Linked DNA regions of Homo sapiens: regions 1 and 2 are each linked to region 3. Evidence: promoter capture Hi-C in human tissues and cell types (Jung and others, 2019). All regions are on one chromosome and are shown on one strand. The core of a region is centred on a gene start or on the middle of the fragment in contact, and the rest is flanking DNA. Distances in the headings are between cores, read along the strand shown. Region 1 overlaps PEX5L (peroxisomal biogenesis factor 5 like). Region 2 overlaps PEX5L (peroxisomal biogenesis factor 5 like). Region 3 holds the start of PEX5L (peroxisomal biogenesis factor 5 like).

Region 1 (2,925 bases), core at 381-2,880, 58 kb after region 3:
AATTCTTTATTCATGAAGGATATTCATGAAGAATATGGTAGGCACGCCTACCCTCTAGAAATTGTCACATCTTATCTATAATGTTGTTATAGTGAATATATAAGCCATTGGAGAAAAAGGATGAGCAAAAGAAGCCATAAGGAGACTGATCGAGAAATGACAAGAATTGTGATGTTAACTTAGGATGCCTGCAGTTGTCAAGGCCATGGAATCTAGGGGTGAGAGTAATGAGTTATACCTCCAGGAAGTGTTTTCACTCTCAGGAACAGGAAAGATTTATTCTAAGATGTCATGACTGTGTGTAGATCCATATAAAATCTAAATAATAATAATAATAACCCTCAAAAGTCATTTGAGCCATAATAGAAATGCTGATTATAAGCCATTCAGTCACATACATGTAGCTTAAAAATAAATAACTTTCTGCATGAATTTTATGGCCGAAGCACAAACTTTGGGTTGATTCTTGTCAGAAACAAAATTTCATAGGCAAATTTTTCTCAAGCATGTGTCAGAGTTTCCAAAAAAATATGCTGGTCTAGAGAAGGTATAAACATCGAGGGAAAATTAAGTGAGGATACAGAATGCCTATAGAAGCAGCTGGTTTTTTCTTTCTTCTTTATTACAGTAAAGAGATCGCGTTTTAGTTTGCAAGGTCATAAAATCATGATGTCCAGATCAGTTGTTAAAAGGAAGTCAGTGGCAGGTGCGGGATGCCAGGTGTGCTGGCTGCCAGTGAGAAGGAAGAGGAGTCGCTGGAAAAGCCAATGATAAGTACACCTGTGTTTGAGATTGCTGTAACAAGGTTTCATCCCCATCTAATAGGGCCAATGCATACAAAAATAAAAAATAATGTGTCAACGGGGATCAGAAGCAGAACATCAAGCAATAAATTTTCACTTAAAATAGATTATTTGTTATTTTTCTCAGACTGCAGAGATAACAGAATACACAATTTACCTTTTTCCTGTTGGGGATGGGAGAGATTATTGTAGGACAGAAGTGTTCCCTTGCCACTGGGATCCAAGATAATACGTCAATTCTCTTAGACTCTGCACCATCTTCCACCAACAACCATTCCAGTCCTGTTGTGTCGGGGATGACAGGGTTAAAACCACCAAAAAGGAGTGCTTGCTAGTTTCATCTTGTTTTGGAAATAGCACCCAGACTGCTTAAGACTGCCAGAGAGATTATCAGATTAAAATATATAATTTTTCAATCATCATTATCTTCAGCCCACAGAAAACAATTTTTTACATATTGGTCACTGCATCCTATGATTACATTTATAACTTCTAGAGACAAGTCTATAGGGAAGGAGACAAGAACATGCCAGCTGAAAGAAAAACTGGACTCAATTTTCTGTTTAGAAGAACATTATCTTTGTTTTTTTTTTAAAATTTGAATTTGGTTTTGAGGGTGAAAGAGGATTAAAATGAATTTACTTATTGTCCTCCAAGTAATGTGGAACATTGCTGAATCTGACATAATTGAAATTTCAAGTTGAATTTTTGTTTTCTGCCTACTTGATCTCAATATGCCAGCCAAGTACTGTCCCTTAAAGCAAATGTAACCCCTCTGAGAAGTCACTTGCCACTTTCGTTGCAGGTACCAGAGGTGATTACATACTATATAGCCCAGAGTATAGTGAGGTTGTTTGCTGTTTTTCATAGATGCAGGAAACATTGATGATCAAAGGACATAAACTTGAGGATGTGGTAATTAATATCATCTTGAACTGCCTATCATTCCATGGATTAATCCCAGAAAGCTGAGTTGTTTGCTCACTAGCTTTTGACTGAGAGCTATAAAAATCCTAACGCTTTGATCAGAAATCGTTCCTCCTAATCCTAGTGATGGGACCTATACAACACTTAATGGTGAGAATATAGTTCACTGATTTGCTTTCCAAATAAAAGCAAAGATTTTCAGTAAAACAACTCCTAAACTTTAGTGCTCTGATCTTGGAAGCTTTTTGAAACAATAGTCTTACTTTTCTGAGTTTTTAAAAGTAAATTAGATAAAATAAAACTTGAAGGAAAGAATGTGTAGAAATGTGATAGTGTATATACTTTAAAAATATGTCAAGTGGGTGAAAAATTTGGGGCAAAAGCAAGTATAATAAAAGTTAGTAGAATCTAGGTAGTTGAGTACACAGGGTCTCTCTGTAAAAATTATTTTAACTTTGCAGTGTGTTTGAAATTTTCATGATAAAATACTAGAAAAGATATATTAAAAGGTACATACCTAAAGTTGAATTTGTATATTTAAGAAAATGTCACTGGACAATGATGTAAGATTGTGTAATCTTAATGGATACTTATGTTGGAACATTCTTATTTTTTGAAATCTTGGAAAATAGAAAATATTTTCAAGATGCTTCATAAACCCTTCAGGCTATTAATGTACAGACCAAAAGCCACCCTAAAGGTAGAAAAACCAGCATTAAGGGGGAACTGCCAGGCTGTAGTATTGTGATTCCCTGCCATCTTATTATCCAGCTAGTTAGTAACTGGAATACCTATTTTCCAATTAGATTTAACCTTAAAATCCAAAAAATTACTAAATGTCTGGGCTCATGCATATGGCAAAACAGTTTAAAATGCTACAACATACTTGTTGTCCTTATATTTCTTTTCTCACCCAACAACGTACATTCAGAAGTGAGTCTGATTGCCATATGTTTTGTTTGCCCATGCTTGACCCAAAAATAAAAAAGTGTACTGTGTGGCCACTCTCTTTTACCGTAGCATGATCACAGTTAGAGAGGGGGGAAAAGCCCATGAGTGTCTTTTAAAAAGACAAGACAAAAATTGTTCTTTAAAAAATGCCAGACTTAACCAGCCCCTCTGTAAATGATTCTCTGTAAAAATAATAATTTCCCTTCAGAAAATTGATCTCCCCCATACCTAAGAAAAATTAAAC
Region 2 (2,737 bases), core at 1-2,500, 35 kb after region 3:
GAGACTGAGTTTTCTGAATCACCTTGTTTACAGAGCTGCTAAGACTTCTGGCTTTATTTAGAAAAGTCTCAATAGGGTATTTGAAGTCAGGCTCTAAATCCTCACCTGATTTGTGTCAGTTTACATCTCCGTTAATAACACAGAATGAATTCGATTTTTATCGTTCTTTTCTCTGTTTGAAAAGAGAAACTCCTTGGTCTCATCTATAATCGTTTCCTACCCTGTGAAATGAGAATTTATGTGAAGATAAAATACGCTCCAAATTTAACAAGCTATGAAAATGTAAGATAATTTAGATCTTTATGGGACAATTTGTGTTATTGCAATTGTTTCCTGATTTAGCAAGATTATTTACTGTACTTCCTAACTTTTTCTGCAAGGAAGAGGTTTATTATATTTGCCATTATCTCAGTCTTCTCTTGTGAAATACTATTTGTGAGGTAGTCTTCACACAATTCTAGGGCAGCTGAATTTCTAGCTATAGTTAAAACTGAAGAAAATATATTTCTTGATGGAAAAATTAATATGCCCCCCAAAAGGATTATATTGATAGAAAAATACAGGTTTGGACAAATATTTACAACACATTTGACAAAGAGTAAATGGATATACTATACAAAAAGTTCTCACAAATTGCCCATAAACAGACCCAAAACACAATTTACAACTGGGGATAATATACAAATGGGAATTTTCTAGGAGAGAACCTTCAAATGATCAATACATATAACAAGATGATCAAATTAACTAATAGTTAGGGAAATGCAATGAAAGATATCACTTTACACTCATCAGACTTAAAAATATTTTTAAAGTAATAATACCTGTTTCTGTCAAGAATAGGAGAAAAGGCATAACTAAGAAAGGCTTGTGTGGCAGTCAGCAAGCTTGTAACCTGGCAACATCGTAAAACAATTTTTAAATAAAAAATACACTCTTCTAATCAGCAATCTCATCCCTAGGAATCTATCACATGGCACTAAAGCAACCAGAACTTAAGGAAATATGCACAAAGATACTAAATGCAGCATTGTTCAGTTAGGAGAAAAAGGAAACCAAAGGAATGCTCGTATTTTTTAAAAAGTTGAGAAGTTCATGGTACATTCATACCTAGAATAACATGCAGGCATTAAAAAGAATGAAATAGAGCTATGAAGATGGATTTAGGTGGTTGTTCTTGAAGTATAGTTGAGAGATGAAAAACAAGTACAAAGAAGTAAGTGCAATATCATACTACTTGTAAAATAACGACAACCCCAGCTAACGTCTATATGTATATGGTTAAATATATTTACCTACAAATATGTGTGTTTGGCTATGACTATGGATAATATAGATAAAATAAACATTATCTTGTTGATTATTCATGGATGGATAAGTGTGTATTTGATGATGTAAATGTACTGGGAAGCAGGAAGGGTAGGTAAGCAAAAAAGAAAAGACTAAACTATAAAAATAGCACATATGATATTACCCCAGTAAAGCATTTATGTCAAGTTGCATATGTGTATAAAACATATGCATAAAATAGTTTATTAAAAATGATTAAAACTTAATGACTTCAAATAAAATTCACAGGTTATTACTTGAAAGCACAATGAAAAATAAATGTAGTGAACACTGTTTATCAACCCTCTGTCCAAAAGATGTGTACATAGGTTTAGCTACAAATATATGGTTTGAAGCGTTCCTCTATGAGCAATGACAACAAAAAAAAAATTTGTTTTCTTTTAACATGTGCACAAAGAGTTTATTTACCAAGTTCGTTTTTATCAGAGAGACGGTGGGTGTATAAGTCAGAGTTCTCTAGAGAAACAGAACTAATATGATATATATATATATCTTCTATATATCCATATATATTATATATTTTATTTTATATATATATATGAATATAAAGGGGAGTTTATTAAGTATTAACTCACATGATCATAAGGTCCCACAATTGGCCATCTGCAAGCTGAGGAGCAAGGAGAGCCAGTGCAAGTCCCAAAACAGAAGAACTTGGAGTCCGATGTTCAAGGGCAGGAAGCATCCAGCACGGGAGAAAGATGTAGTTTGAAGGCTAGGCCAGTCTAGTCTTTTCACATTTTCCTGCCTGCTTTGTATTCTAGCCAAGCTGGCAGCTGATTAGATGGTGCCCACCCAGATTAAGGGTGGGTCTGCCTTTCCCAGCCCACTGACTCAAATGTTAATCTCCTTTGGCAACACCCTCATAGACACACCCAGGATCAATACTTTGCATCCTTCAATTCAATCCAGTTGATACTCAATATTAACCATCACAAGTCCACCCCTTGTCAACTTGAACCCACACATATCTCCTGAGATCACACATAATCTTCAATAAAGACAATAATAAGGTCATAATTACACCTAACATAATACAACTATCCTCGTACAACCAGAAATGCACCAATCCCCAACCTAAATATTACTACATAAAGTTAACAATACTTAAATGCTGGTATGAAATCAATAAATCTGATGTCACGTGATAAGGGAAAAAGGAAATAAAATCAACATATCTTCTTAGTACAAGTATATACATGCACAAACATGTTTTTAACAAAAGAAGGAGGAAATATGTCAATTACAGTCCTTGTTTCTGCAGCTAGTCACGTGGTCATAGCTGGTATTGATGACTACCTCCTTCTGCTACCCATTCTGTATTCCCTTTGATTCACCTAGCACCTCAGCAGGTCGTGGTTTTTTTTCCTGGAGGAGTGACCCAAAC
Region 3 (2,932 bases), core at 120-2,619:
TCATTAGTCCATACATGGTTCTATTTTATTTAGTTACACAGTAATTTTTAATAGGATATTAGGTGTCCTATGAATCACTACCCGGCATAGAAGATAAGACATTAACATCTAAACTTCAAGTGAAATGCTTCCCCATCTATTTCCCTGCCTCCCTTCACCCAGGGTCACCAACACTCTGAACACTATATTCATTGTTCCACTGCTTTCCTTTTTATATTGTTGTATATGAATATATGAATACACATTGACATTTCTAGGGATTTTTTAAACTTTATAAAAAGCATATTATGCTATATGCAATATTTTGGGGATATCATGCTGTACATAATATGAGGGGCCTGTAGAATTGGAGATGTTTTTACCAACAAAATTAGGTAATCACAGTATACACCACCCCGTGGTGTGTGTGTATATATGAACATTTATTGTGTAGACACATCAAACTACCCAGTCTCAACTTGAGACATATTTAAATGCACTCTTCATATATGTGTGTATGTGTGTGTAAGTGTATAGTAGTAAAGGTCTATTCATTCAGCAAATATTTATTGTGTGCCTGCCATGTGTCAGGAAGTACTAAATACCTTACTGTGCACACACGTGCAAAACCAAGTGCAACACTCCACCCCCCTAAAAAAAAGTCCCTGATCTCATGGAAATAACATTGTACAGAGGGAGAGACAGACAGTACATAAAATAAATATGGAAAATATAAAGGATGTTAGGTGATGTTACGTGCTAGGGAAAAAAATAAAACATGCCAGATCCTCAGGGACTAGGGTTTGCCGTTTTAAATAGAATGCTCGGCGATGAACTGGGGATGAGGGGAGCGGGGAGTCTTTATTTAACGGGTGATACGGACGTAACTTTCGAGAGCTGAATCAGAACCGAAGTAAACTCTTCGGCAACCCCTGCACTCAGCCTATAATGTCTGTAGGATAACAGGCTCAGCCGCGGTGGATGGCCCCCGGAGAGACGATGCATGTCTTCCCGCCTTTCTTCCGGCCGGCCATCCTCTCCGCTAGAATCGCCCTGCCCGCCGACGCCGCACCTGAACGCCGCGCTGCTGCGGGCGTTGTACACCAGCGCGACCACCGCCTGCCGGCACCTCGCCTTGCCGCCGCGCGCGCGCAGCCCCGAGGACGCGCTCGGGGAGCGCGCACCGCCCGGGGCCGCCCTCGGGCCGCTCCCAGGCCCCTGGGAACGCGCGCGCGTGCCCGGTCCCGCGGCCTCTCGGCAGGCACGCGGCTGGGAGAACGGCGCGCGCCCCGCTCGGCAGCTGCGGCGGCGGCTGGTGTAGGCGCTCACGTCAGGGCTGGGAGGAGGGGGTTCGCAGCTCAGAGAGAGAGAGACATGAGGCAACCTGGCAGGAAGCGAGAAAGAGTTCGGCGAAGAAGGAGTGAGTTCTAGAGACGCCCCGCGAGCAGGACCCGCGCCTGCAGGAGAGCCTGGCCGACCCGGCTCCTCGCCTTCTCTGCGCGCTCTCCCGCGTCCGCTTTCAGCACCCCGAGCGGAGAACAGTTCCCGGCAGCCCGCAGCGCTGCCGAGTGGCCGCCGGCCGGCCGAGTACCCGGAGCTCCAGGGGGCTCAGGAGCACCCTCTGAGAACCCGCTGTGCACCCACCTTTTCCCCTCTTTTGGTGGGCAAGTAAGCACGGGGGAAAAGCATCCGGTGGCCTCAGGGAGCCCTGAAGAAACCGAAGCAGAATGTACCAGGGACACATGCAGGTAAGACATTTCTATAGGGCTGGAGAGAATTCTTGGGGGCTAATTTAAGAGCAAGGCGGTTCACCAAGTTTCTGTGGTCAAGTGCTGCCTTCGCACAGCTCAACAAGTGAAGTGATGCAACATGACCGTGACATTTCTGTCCGGTGCTGCCGGGAAAACTAGACCGGTTTCCGAAGGTGGGAGAAGGGGAGGGAAGACCTCAGAACTTCGATTGGGGAAGTTTGTTTTCTGTGCATTCCCTGAGCCTGTTTCTTTAAACAGGATCAAGGAATCGAAACAGAGGAAACCCTAGAGATGACCGTGTTTCCGTTGTAATCCTATTGATGCATCTCAGCATGTATGTCAACTGAAGGGCAAACAATAATAGGAAAGACAAAGCTTTTCCTTTACCATCTGAAAAGGTTGCTTGACTTAGAACACTCTGTCACTTTCGTTTCATTTTTTAAAGTGTTATATTTAAAAAACGATTTATAGTGTATTTTCCCCCTTCACATTATGGGACATTGCCATCTACTCCAATAGTCACAGGATGACTTGGGAGGATGAATTTCAAACACATGTCCAAGGAGCTCTAATGTTTTTCAGGGGAGGTGCTGCCTCCGGTTGTTATTAATATTCATCTGAGCTGAGCCGCTGCTTCTTTCCGATGCAAACACACTCTACTCTCTTGGGCAAGATTACTTTAACCTTGACTCCAGTTCTCATTCATACGGTTGGTTGGTTCTTATAAAGGCAGATATATGCTTTGGGAGAAAAATAAAATACTAACTCAGCTTTCTAAAGTATGAACTGGACTCTTTATCGCACCTAAATGGTTTAGTCATCAGGTTTGATGTTTGGGCTTCCTTTCCATTCCAAAGATGGTCAAATACAATCATTATGTGTGATGCCTTTATCCTGGTGTATAACATTTATGAATACTGAGGATTTTGCTTCTGTGTCTTTTAGAGCAATTGGAAATAGATAAATATGTTGTTATATTTATGACTTAGTACTACCCAGATTTAATTTCCATAACTTAGGGAAATTCTTTTGGACTATAATCCATTTTTAAATAAAACACAATATTTCATCATAGTCTCAATTTTTATAAGAATTCTCAATATACAGTGCCAGAATTCCAAAAGATTTCCCGTATGACTAACATCATCCTGTTTTGAAAATTATTAATGTGATTATATCACATTTGATAGACAAAAAGTAGT

What was found. Contacts are between HindIII fragments. The study calls those that stand out against the background at their distance.
Region 1: a fragment that was not itself captured here is called in contact with the fragment with the promoter of PEX5L in region 3 in 1 of the 25 tissues and cell types used here (hippocampus).
Region 2: a contact is called between a fragment that was not itself captured here and the fragment with the promoter of PEX5L in region 3, in 1 of the 25 tissues and cell types used here (hippocampus).

Annotation. Positions count from the first base shown.
Region 1 is chr3:179,977,721-179,980,645 of GRCh38, reverse strand. The region is part of intron 1 of PEX5L (peroxisomal biogenesis factor 5 like); the gene reads left to right. It overlaps LOC124909463 (a long non-coding RNA gene), which reads right to left. Exons shown (of 2, transcript XR_007096182.1): 2 at 602-1,085. Among named protein-coding and RNA genes, the nearest start is that of PEX5L, 58 kb to the left of the region's middle. The HindIII fragment of the contact is 6,006 bases long and covers 1-2,925 here.
Region 2 is chr3:180,000,476-180,003,212 of GRCh38, reverse strand. The region is part of intron 1 of PEX5L (peroxisomal biogenesis factor 5 like); the gene reads left to right. Among named protein-coding and RNA genes, the nearest start is that of PEX5L, 35 kb to the left of the region's middle. The HindIII fragment of the contact is 9,703 bases long and covers 1-2,737 here.
Region 3 is chr3:180,035,374-180,038,305 of GRCh38, reverse strand. It overlaps PEX5L (peroxisomal biogenesis factor 5 like), which reads left to right and starts at 1,369. Exons shown (of 15, transcript NM_016559.3): 1 at 1,369-1,727. The coding sequence starts at 1,707. RefSeq lists a silencer at 1,254-1,303. The HindIII fragment of the contact is 6,291 bases long and covers 1-2,828 here.